Regions from separate parts of the Homo sapiens genome. Here region 1 is linked to region 2. Evidence: promoter capture Hi-C in human tissues and cell types (Jung and others, 2019). All regions are on one chromosome and are shown on one strand. The core of a region is centred on a gene start or on the middle of the fragment in contact, and the rest is flanking DNA. Distances in the headings are between cores, read along the strand shown.

What was found. The method cuts DNA at HindIII sites, captures the fragments that hold promoters and counts their contacts. A contact is called where the count stands out against the background at its distance.
Region 1: the fragment with the promoter of ATRN here is called in contact with the fragment with the promoter of GFRA4 in region 2 in 1 of the 25 tissues and cell types used here (liver).

The regions. Positions count from the first base shown.
Region 1 is chr20:3,469,614-3,475,572 of GRCh38, reverse strand. It overlaps ATRN (attractin), which reads right to left and starts at 4,555. Exons shown (of 29, transcript NM_139321.3): 1 at 4,056-4,555. The coding sequence starts at 4,465. RefSeq lists a silencer at 4,169-4,728 and an enhancer at 4,829-4,968. The HindIII fragment of the contact is 27,188 bases long and covers 1-5,959 here.
Region 2 is chr20:3,661,237-3,666,516 of GRCh38, reverse strand. It overlaps GFRA4 (GDNF family receptor alpha 4), which reads left to right and starts at 3,118. Exons shown (of 6, transcript NM_022139.4): 1 at 3,118-3,163; 2 at 5,228-5,280. The coding sequence starts at 3,118. The HindIII fragment of the contact is 25,120 bases long and covers 1-5,280 here.

The DNA.
Region 1 (5,959 bases), core at 3,306-5,805, 190 kb after region 2:
TTCACATAAGAATGAACGAAAGTGGTACTGCCTTAGAAATCACACACCAAAGATTCTATAGGTATTTTTATTAAACTGACATCCTTTAACTTATCCTTTAAAATCAGTCATTTCTATGTCATCTTTTATTTAGAAAAAATGTTACTAACTACAATAATTCAATAATCTAAATTTTATATAACACCCTCAGAGTTGTCCTGAGGATTAAATAATACAATGTACATGAAAATGCTCTGTGGCACATAGTCTGCACTCAGTGATAACCTTAGGGAAATCCACTCCTCGTTAGCCTACGTTCCCTTCAATTAATGAAAAAACCCTATAACGGCAATTATAACACAGGATTTACAGGACTAAAAAGCTCAAAAAACACTCCAACTTGATGCCATTCTAAATCAGAAAGGTATTCATTTAATGTCTTTTAATAACAAAGAGGTTTGTAAGTTCAATCAAGATACAAGCCACTGCAATCAAAACCAACATTTCACTCTTGCCCCCAAAAGAATACTTGGACTAAATTTTTTTTTTTTTTTTTTTTTTTGAGATGGAGTCTCACACCCTCGCCTGGTCTGGAGTGCAATGGCGCAATCTCGGCTCTCTGCAACCTCCGCTTCCCGGGTTCAAGCAATTCTCCTGCCTCAGCCTCCCGAGTAGCTGGGATCACAGGCGCCTGCCACCATGCCCAGGTAATTTTTTGTATTTTTAGTAGAGACGGGGATTCACTATGTTGGCCAGGCTGGTCTCAACTCCTAACCTCTTGATCTGCCCGCCTCAGCCTCCCAAAGTGCTGGGATTACAGGCGTGAGTCACCGCGCTTGGCCTCGACTAAAATTTTATTGAGTTTTTGTTGTTGTTGTTGTTGTTTTGAGATGGACTCTCGCTCTGTCACCCAGGCTGGAGTGCAGTGGTGCGATCTCGGCTCACTGCAAGCTCTGCCTCCCGGGTTCACGCCATTCTCCTGCCTCAGCCTCCCGAGTAGCTGGGACTACAGGTGCCCGCCACCACGCCCGGCTAATTTTTTGTATTTTTAGTGGAGACGGGGTTTCACCAAGTTAGCCAGGATGGTCTCGATCTCCTGACCTCGTGATACACCGCCTCGGCCTCCCAAAGTGCTGGGATTACAGGTGTTAGCCACCACGCCTGGCCTACTGAGTTTTTTTTAAAAGACCAGAGTCATAAGTTCCTCCTACTTTCATTTTTAAAAATGCAAAATCCCAAAGCCCACAAAATATAATGGTATCATCAGGACCAAAGTCATAATTGTCTACCCAGGAAACAGCACTGACATCACCTAGAATCAGCTCAAAGGGAATGTCCACAATAAGCAGGGGAGTCCCTTCACTCACCTGTGACACTATTTGAGACAACCAGTGTCAGGACTGCCTGTTCCCTGCAACAAGTAGCTCTTATCCAATCCTCTGGGCTTTCCATGTGGACTCTCAGAGAGAGCTCCCTGGCAATCTCCCTCATAGGTCGATGACTCCAAACTTAACATCTGCCAGGTGTGTACTCTGAGAGCACCCCAAACTCAGCATGCATGCAATTAAATGTCTAACACCTGCTCCTGTGTCCCTGTGTCTGTTAATGGTATCACTGTCCTCTCAACCACCCAAGACAGGATCTAGTTTTCTTTCCCTCACCATCCCCCACCTTTCCAAGAGCAAACCAGTTTACACGGAAGACTTGTCCATTTCACCTCTACAAGCTCTCATTACCACTGCTCTGACCCATGCCAACAGATCCCACCTAGCTGCCCCCTATCTCTCATGCCCAAAGTGAGTGTACCTACTCTGAACATTACAGATTGATCTTGCTATGAAGTCCCCTTCCCACACCGCTGGTCCCCACTGCCTACCACAGTGTCCCAGGTTTTCAGAACTTGAAGGATCCTCGTCTGACTCAACCATCCATTCACCTGACCTTGGAAGCTTCTCAAATGGAAAATGCCCTGGCCTCACCTTCAAGGCCATTTGTATTCTGGCTCCAATCTAAAAGCCTATAATGTCATGAAAATAGGCGTGAACTACGCCATTTCACAGCTCTTGGGCTAAAGGTCAAAATTCTCAATCCAACCCACAGATCTCCACTTGGCCTGGCTTCCCGCCTTTCTCTCCAGTCTTGCCAAGCTCCCCTTTGCTCTCTCTGCTCCTGCCACCTGGCCTTCCATCCGCTTCAACCCCAAGCCTCTGTACCTGCTGGCCCCTCAGCACCCCACCCCTCACGCAGGTAGTACCATCTCACCCCTCAGACTTCACATCGCTTCCTCAGTGACTTACCTTACCCCTAGACTAAGTCAAGTCCTCTGTTTGTCTCCTGCTCTTTACCTCCACAGCCTTAAACAAAATTACAATAAAATTTTTGTTGGATTTTTTTACTCCCAAGCTGAAATGTGAGCTCCGTAAGAGCAGGACTGTGCCTGTCTTGTATACCACTGTATCTCACAACCTAAAACATAGGAGCCCTCAACAAATACATGTAGGTTAATGGAATTCATAAATCAGAACACCCTAAGTTACAAAAGCAGCTTCACTGCATCAGTGGTCCTGAAGTAACTTGGTTTCTCCATCCATAAAACTAAAGAGCTCATCTGCTCAACGTTCTCTGAGTTCCTCAGAAGACCTAATATTACCTAAGTCTACAATTTTGCTATTCCAAACTCCTCTCTCACAACTCTCTTCCACATAGGCAGCAGCAAAACTTTACTTTCCAGCCTCCACAACTTTGTTTGCACCCTTCTTTCCATCTGTAATTTTTTTCCAGCTCCACATTTCCAAATCCTACTTAACCTTACATGCTCAAATCCAATGTTACCGCCTCCTCAAAGTCCTCCTTGCATCCCTCCAGCTAGCCACAACCTCTCCATCCCTGAATTCCCACAAGTTCCCTGTTGCCTCATTCAGGTCTCAGATCAAATGTCATTTCAAATGAGAACCCTCTCCAAGAGTCACCACCGGTTATAATTCTCTATCAGACCACGCTGTTTTTATTTTCTTGATAGCATTTACCATTACCTGAAATTACCATGTTTATTTCTCTCATTTATTTACTTGTTAAGTGCCTGTTGCTCCCACTAGAATGTTAAGGTCAATGAGAGCAGAGGCCCTGTCTGTCTTGTTCACATTTCCCCACTCCCCCACATCAGACATGTGTTCAGTAAGCTAAATACCTGTCAAAGGCGTGAATGACTCTGTAACCCTTATGACTAGGGTTATGTGCGCACATTATCTTTCTCTTGCTATATTCCAAACTCCCTGTGGACAAGGCCAAAGTCTGGCTAATCTGTCTGTATTATCTGGAAAATCATTGCACAACTGAAGCAAATAACGATAACTGCTAATTAATTTATTGATTTCTCCAAGAGGAACTGCCCCAAACTAAGCCAATTCAGAACTTCATATTGTCCAGAAACCAAGGCAAATAGGAATCTCCTTCCATTCCCTCTTCACCACAGACCCTATTCCAATTTGCCACCTCCAGGGAGCTTTTGCCAAAAGGCTAGTTTCCTCACTTTCCTTTAGAAGGACCACTGGTCCTTCTATCCCTAATATCTTACAATGCTACCCTTTCCCTTTTATCTCCAGCCAACAAAGCATTTCCAGGGCCCTGTTTCTTCAGAGCACCCCACATCTCCAGTGCATCGGGGAACTCATCGGGTCCTAGGGCACATGTGGATGTTAAAAGGAAGTGTTCAAGCAAACCTGGCTCGACCACCTTTCCTTGGATACCTCGTTTAGCTGAAACACGCCGAGTTTTAGAGCGATCGGCTTTGATGCTCTTTGGGTCCCTCAGCATTCTTCCCATCTAACTAACCTAAGCACCCAAATACCGTCGGGGTGCCCCCACCCTTGCCCCACACCTTTTCACCTTCCAACAGAGAAAGACCCCAGGCCAGAGACGATGATCTCCCCGGAAGCAAATGGCCCTCAAACCCCATAGGGCGGCCCTACCCTCTCCACTTTCTGTCCAGCATCTCCCTCTGACCTGGAGCCGTCTCGAACGCCCCTCAGCCCCAGCCTCTGGTTGGACCCGACCCTCCGACACCACCCGCCACTCACCTGAAGCGGCCCCCGCAGTGCTGGCATTGCTCGCCCACCCAGCCGGCGGGGCAGACGCACTGGCCGGTGCCAGGGTTGCAGCGACCGCCGTTGACACAGGGCCGGTCACATTCCTTGGCCTCGGCTGCGGCTGAGCCCGACACCGCCGCCGCCGCCGCCGCGGCCTCGGCCTCACAGGGCAGCAGCAGCAGCAGCAGCGGCGGCGAGAGCAACAACAGCAGCAGCAGCAGCCGTGGCCGCAGCGGTGGAGACAGCAGCCGCGGGAGGCGCAGCCCGGCCCCCAGCCCCGGCCTCCCAGCCCTGGTCACGTCCCAGTCCCAGTGCGGCCCGCCGCTCCTGCCCGCGAGCGCTGCCGTCGCCGCCGTCCTCCTCCTCAGCCTTGCCTCAGTTGCCGCCGCTGCAGCCACCATCTTCCCGGGGCTGAGACGGCGCCCCGCGAACACATACACACACACCGCACGGCCGGCTCCGCTTCGCCTGGCCGTGCGGGGCGGGGCTGTGCGGACGGTGGCTCGTGCGGTCCAAAGGGGCCACAGCGGGGCGGTGGGCGGGGCCGGCGCGCGCGTGCGCGAGTACGTGGGTGCGTGCGTGCGGGGGCGCAGACAGTGGTCTCCGGCGTCCGCGGCGCCGGAGGCGATCTTCTGACGTGGACCGTAGAACGAGCTGAAACCCGGCTGCGCTGTCCCGGCCGGCGAAAGCTCTAGTTTTCCCCCTTCGCCTTTCGTCCCCGGCGGCGGGGTTGCAGCCCCACTGGATGCCTAGGAGCCGACTGCGTTGAGTGTTGCCCTCCTAGAGACCCGGCACTCTGCCCTAACTCCAGCTGCCGGACGGAAAGGGTACAGGAGGCTGCATCGCAGCGAGGTGCTGGGTGCGGTACTGTAGAAGCCAGGCTTCATTCGAGCCTCTGTAACACAAGAGTCAAGAAAGAACACATGTAGAACCTGGCATAGGCCGGGCGCGGAGGCTTACGCCTGTAATCCCAGCACTTTGGGAAACTGAGGCAGGCGGATCACTTGATCTCTGGGATCCGAGACCAGCCTGGCCAACAGGGTGAGACACTGTCTCTACTAAAAATACAAAAATTAGCCGAGCATGGTGGTGCGCGCCTGTATCCCCAGCTACTCCAGAGGCTGAGGCAGGAGGATCGCTTGAGTCTGGAGAGGTCAAGGCTGCAGTGAGCCGCAGTCGCAGCACTGCACTCCAGCCTGGGCAACACAAGACCCTGTGTCAAAAAATGAAGAACCTGGCATGTAGGCTGTGCTCAGTAAATGCCTAATAAACTGAATGAAGACACACAGCCAGGCCTCTTGATAACAGATGGACTGTAGCTGACCAGACCCCCTACCTTTAATTCTGTAAAAGTTTGGAGTTACCTTGCTCCCCACAATTTGCCCTCCAACCATCTTCTCTGAAGAGTGGGCAATATAGAATTAGGAAATGGCGCTCACACAGACCTGCCCCTTCTTGTCTGGTAGTTGTTACTCTGGTGTCCCTCAATGAGACATGTCTTCCATCAATGTAGCCTTTTATGGTCCTTGACCCTGGAATCTGGGCTGGGTCATGATTGAGACCATGAGAAACCATGACTCAATTTCACCAATAGAAGAAGTTGGTAGGAGTAGCAATGTCTTGTTTCTAGCTCTGAGCTTAAAAAAGACCTGGCAGCCTTGGCCGGGCACGGTGGCTCACGTCTGTAATCCCAGCACCTTGGGAGGCCGAGGCGGGCAGATCACGAGGTCAGAAGTTCGAGACCACCCTGATCGACGTGGTGAAACCCTGTCTCTACAAAAAATACAAAAATTAGCCGGGCGTGGTGGCACACACCTGTAATCCCAGCTACTCAGGAGAGTCGCTTGAATCCAGGAGGCAGAGGTTGCAGAGAGTCGTGATCGCGCCACTGCACT
Region 2 (5,280 bases), core at 1,869-4,368:
CCCAGACTGGGGGAGAGGCCTGTCTGGAGCCCAGGATCACCTGGCTGTGCTGCAGAACTGGAGAAGAGAAGCTCAGCAGAAAGGAGCTGGCATGGGGCCAACAGCAGAAAAGCAGGAGGCACGCAGAAGTGACTGGGAAGCAGGAGGGTAGGCATGGACCCTGAGGCTGAGCAGGAGGTACTGAGGGGCAGAGTGGACGCTGAGCTGGGGGTAGCGAGCGAGCCCAGCTCAGCTGTGACGCCCTCTGTTTGGCCACCCAACTACCAGCTACTTGGGCTGCCCCGGGAGGAACTGGGCTTCCTCTGACATTCTGTGGCCTGCGGCCATCTGTCACACCTTCTTCTCTCTCTGCCCCTCCCTTGACTTGTGGCACCCACAGACAGGTGGGAGAGTGTACCTGCCCTGTGTGGTCAGAGCTTGGTTTTGAGTTTCCTTCCCTCACCCCTCTTTCCTCCCACACGCCAAAACACAAGAGGATGTGTCAGAGGCCTGTGAACCAGAGCAACTCCATCCTGAATAGGGGCTGAGCAAAATAAGGCTGAGACCTACTGGGCTGCGTTTCCAGACAGTTACAGCATTCTGCGTCACAGGATGAGATAGGAGATACAGGTCATAAAGACCTTGCTGATAAAATAGTTTGCAGTAGGCCAGGCGCGGTAGCTCACGCCTGTAATCCCAGCACTTTGGGAGGCTGAGGTGGGCGGATCACCTGAGGTCAGAAGTTCGAGACCAGCCTGGCCAACAAGGTGAAACCTCATCTCTACTAAAAATACAAAAACTAGCCAGGCATGGTGGTGTGTGCCTGTAATCCCAGCTACTTGGGAGGCTGAGGCAGGAGAATCGCTTGAACCCAGGAGGTGGAGGTTGCAGTGAGCTGAGATCGTGTCACTGCACTCCAGCCTGGAGCGAGACTCCGTCTCAAAAAACAAAACAAACAAAAAAATCAGCTTGCAATATAGAAGCTGGCTAAAACCCACCCAAACCAAGATGGTGATGAGAGTGACCTCTGGTCGTCCCCACTGCTACACTCCCACCAGCGCCATGACAGGTTACAGATGCCATGGCAGTATCAGGAAGTTACCATATATGGTCTAAAAAGGGGAGACATGAACAATCCACCCCTGTTTAGCAGATCATCCAGAAACAACCATAAAAATGGGCAACCAGCAGCCCTCAGGGCTGCGCTCTCTATGGAGTAGCCATTCTTTTATTCTTTTACTTTCCTAATAAATGTGCTTTCACTTTATGGACTCGTCTCAAATTCTTTCTTGCACGAGATCCAAGAACCCTCTCCTGGGGTCTGAATCTGGACCCCTTTCCGGTAACAGATGTCGTAGAGTGAAGCACAACCACTGCAGGGGCATCTTGGTTTACATTTTGCTTCAGCGGCCATGGTTAGCACAGCGGAAAGCACATCACAGTCTTCTGATTCATTAAAAAAATTAGGAAATGGACCACCACAAACCACAGACAGATGTACTGAGACAGGATAGGTAGTCAAGAAAGTGACCATGTTCTAGGCGCGCAGCAGCAACTGTGGTGACCGTACAGTCAACAAGCCTCAGCACTGGCATTGCAATTGAGCTCATTCAAGCAAAGCTATCTTCAGCAGGGACTTCTCCCTCTAGGCAGCAAGCGCATTTTTATTTTACCTGTCCTCAAACTGATCCTTTGCTCCTTATAATAGTAAGGAACACACCCCTGTGTGGAGATTTAAGATGCTAATGAGGCCAAGCGCAGTTGCTCACGTCTGTAATTCCAGCACTTTGGGAGGCAGAGGTGGGCGGGTCACTTGAGGTTAGAAGTTCGAGACCAGCCTGGCCAACATGGTGAAACCTTGTCTCTACTAAAAATACAAAAATTAGCCGGGCATGGTGGCGGGCGTCTGTAATCCCAGCTACCTGGGAGGCTGAGGCAGAAGAATCGCTTGAACCTGGGAGGCGGAGGTTGCAGTGAGCCAAGATCGTGCCACTGCACTCCAGCCTGAGGGAGAGAGAGAGCAAGACATCGTTTTTGTTTGTTTGTTTGTTTGTTTGTTTGTTTTTTAAAAAAAAGTCAAGACAAATCATAGTGGGGGCTTTTCTGGTCACTTTTTAAATCTTAGTGTTGAGACTTTATTTGAGACAGGGCCTTACTCTGTTGCCCAGGTTGGATGAGATTTTTAACCTCAATATTTACTTATAGAATAACTTTTTGGTTAGTCAAAACAATGCTGTGTCTCATTCTGATCAGAATAAAACATCAGACAACTCAAGAGAAACATTCTGCAAAATAACTGGCCAGGATTCTTCAAAAGTGTCAAGGGTAAAGATAAGGAAAGATGAAGGAACTCCCAGATTGAGGAGAATAAGGAGACAACTGTGATGTGGGATCCTAGAATGGATCTTGGAACAGAAAAAGGACATTAGTGGAAAAATGAGAAATGCAAAACAGTCTACAGTTTCGTTAACAGGATTGTACCAAGGTTAGTTTCCTAGCTGTAATGATTGGACTATGATTAAGTAAGATGGACCATCAGGGGAAGCTGGGTGAAGGGTGTAAGGAAAATGCTTACATTTTCCAACTTTTCTGCAAGTCTAAAATTAGTCAACAATAAGAAGTTTAAAATAGGCCAGGCATGGTGGCTCACACCTGTCATCCTAGCACTTTGAGAGGCCGAGGTGGGAGGATGGTTTGAGCCCAGGAGTTCAAGACCAGCCTGCGCAATAGAGCGAGACCCCAACTCTATTCAAAAAAATTTTTTTAAGTTTAAAATAGAATTATATAAAAAAGGAAAAGAAAAATGCTGTTTCATAGCGTTCCTAGTTTAGCATGGGAGAGACCAGGTCTCCCTGGGTGGTTGTCTGTGTGTTGCTGGGTGTGCGTGGCAGGGCTAGTGTGTTGGGGTCCGTCTAGGCACATTCAGGCGCCGAATCCCGTGGCTCCCAGGTTTACCTGACGGTGCAGCCTGGGGTGGAGACTTAATGAGGGCGGGGAGTTGCTGCAGCAAAGGCTCCTCCCAGGGGTATCAGCGCAGACAGCTGGGTTTTCACTGTGCTCCTGCTCCAGAGGCACTAGGAAGGGGGCGCCTATCAGACTAGGGCTCTGCCAGCCATCCTTCTCTGTTGAAGGTCCAGCATGGTCCGCTGCCTGGGGCCTGCGCTGCTGCTGCTGCTGTTACTGGGTGAGCGCCCCTCTCTTCCCCTGGACCCCGAACCCTGGCCTCTCTGTCCCTGCTCCTCAGTGACAAGGTGGGAGGGCAAGATATTCCAGGAAAAGCTGAACCACAGGAAGGGTTGCCAGTGAGAGGCCTGTGCGCACGGCTTGGGGACCCCTGGCAATTGACCCCACTATGTGCTGAGCACCTCACCTCCCAGCCCCGTCAAGCCACCACCGCCATCCCCCTCCCGAGTCCAGCCTTGGCACCCGTGCCCCAGGAACTTTTGCCTATTGTCTGCCATCTCCCAACTCTCTCACCCTCCCCTCAGCCCCAGCCCTCCTACCCATCACACAGATTCCTTGGTGAATCTTCGGTGTTGTTCATCTGTTGTTCCACCTTCTTGGACTGCTCCGTCCCTGCATGGATGTCGCGGAGGGAGGGGTCACTTTACCGAGTGTAGTGTGGAAAGTGGAATCTGGTAAAGGTTTAAGGTGGAGGAGATCTTGCAGCTGAGATGAGCTGCTGTGAGGGTGGAGACTGGGTAAGGGTGTTCTGGGCAAGGGTGACAGGTAAGCAACAGGCAGAGGTGGGTTCAAACCCTTAGGCAACATCAGGTGCTGGTGTGTGCAGCTGAGACCTGAGGATGTGCCTGGCAAGGCTGTGAGAGGAAAGCAAAGTGTGCCCTTTGGGGAGGGGAGGAAGGGAGGACTCACCCCGCTGCCATCTATCCCCTCCACTCAGGGACCATTCTAAGCCCTCGAGCTATGTTCATCCTTCCTGCAGAGGCAGGTGCTGAAGTCACAGCAGGAATCACTCTCACCACGCGGTCCAATCCACAGCCTGAAAGACACAGCCATTGCCAGAGAGGCACCCTGCTCCCAGCCCTGGGGGGGGGATACCACCCCGTAGCCCCTGTGCACAAACACACAGGGAGATGGATGAGGGGCCAGGCTGTGCACGTCCACTCAGGCTGGGCACCAGAAAGGCTTCTAGTCTGAATGAGATGCTCCAGACTGGAGAACTTGTGGAGGCTGGGGGGGATTCGATTAGCCTGGTTTTTGTGACTCAAATCCTGGGAAGGGGCTGCCAAGTCCCAACTTCCAGTTATCCTGGCTCTATTTAGACACAGCCTGTGGGCATGTGGGCAGAGCTCACCCTCTGTCTACCCAACCCCTGGTGTGTGACTGGGGTGCCAGGCACCTTCTCTGTCTCCAGCAGGGTGTCACCTATCATGGGGCCTGGTCACTAAAACCACTGATGAACCCTTGGGTCCTGTGGCTCAGGACAAAGCCCGGCGGTGTGTCGTCAGGGACTTCTCTGAATCCACACCCTGGCAGCCAGGACTCAGTGGGTTCTTCAGTGGCCAGAGCTCTTGCATGAATCCGCTCTCCCCTGGCTGATGAAGGGTGGAGGGGCTGGAGGAAGCCAGTGCAGATGGGGCAGGATGACCTCGACTCAAGGGAGCATCAGGAAGGGCTGGAGAGGGGAGACACCCATGCAGGGGGCAGGAGGAGGAGCAGGAGGTCAGGAAGGAGGGAGAAACAGAAATCAATAGACCCACCCAAAGGGTCTCCATGGTGGAGGATAAGCGGCGAGGTGGAGGGGGTAGAGGAGGAAAGGTATGGCGTCACAGCCTGTCATTAAGAGACTAGGAGCAGCCACTGTCTTCTATGCCATCTCTGGTTTTAAAGTCTCCATTGGCCAGATCCCCAGAAAGCCTCATTGTTCCCCCGTCAGGTAGTGCCATTGAGTGTAGGAGGAGCCCCTGGACCCGTCTTTGGACGTGTGTGGCCGTTCTGGAGAAATGGTGGCGATGCTTGGGAAGGAGGGGCTTCAGCTTTTGGGGAAGGCCTGGCTCAGCCTCCATGCTCCCTCTCCATCCCTGACGTGTTGCAGAGCCCTCCAGAGCCCGCCGCTGCCCATCCCCACGACGGAGAGCCGATCAGTGCCAGTCGGCCCCGCCTTTGGGCCACACTCTATGCTTTCTCGGGTTTTCAGTGTCCCCCACCTTCCAGGGGCGTGGATGGGCTGGGTGAAGTGTGCATGCGGGGCGCACTGAGACCTGCAGCCTCCCCGCGCCTTTCCCAGGGTCGGCGAGCTCGGTCGGAGGGAACCGATGTGTGGACGCGGCCGAAGCCTGC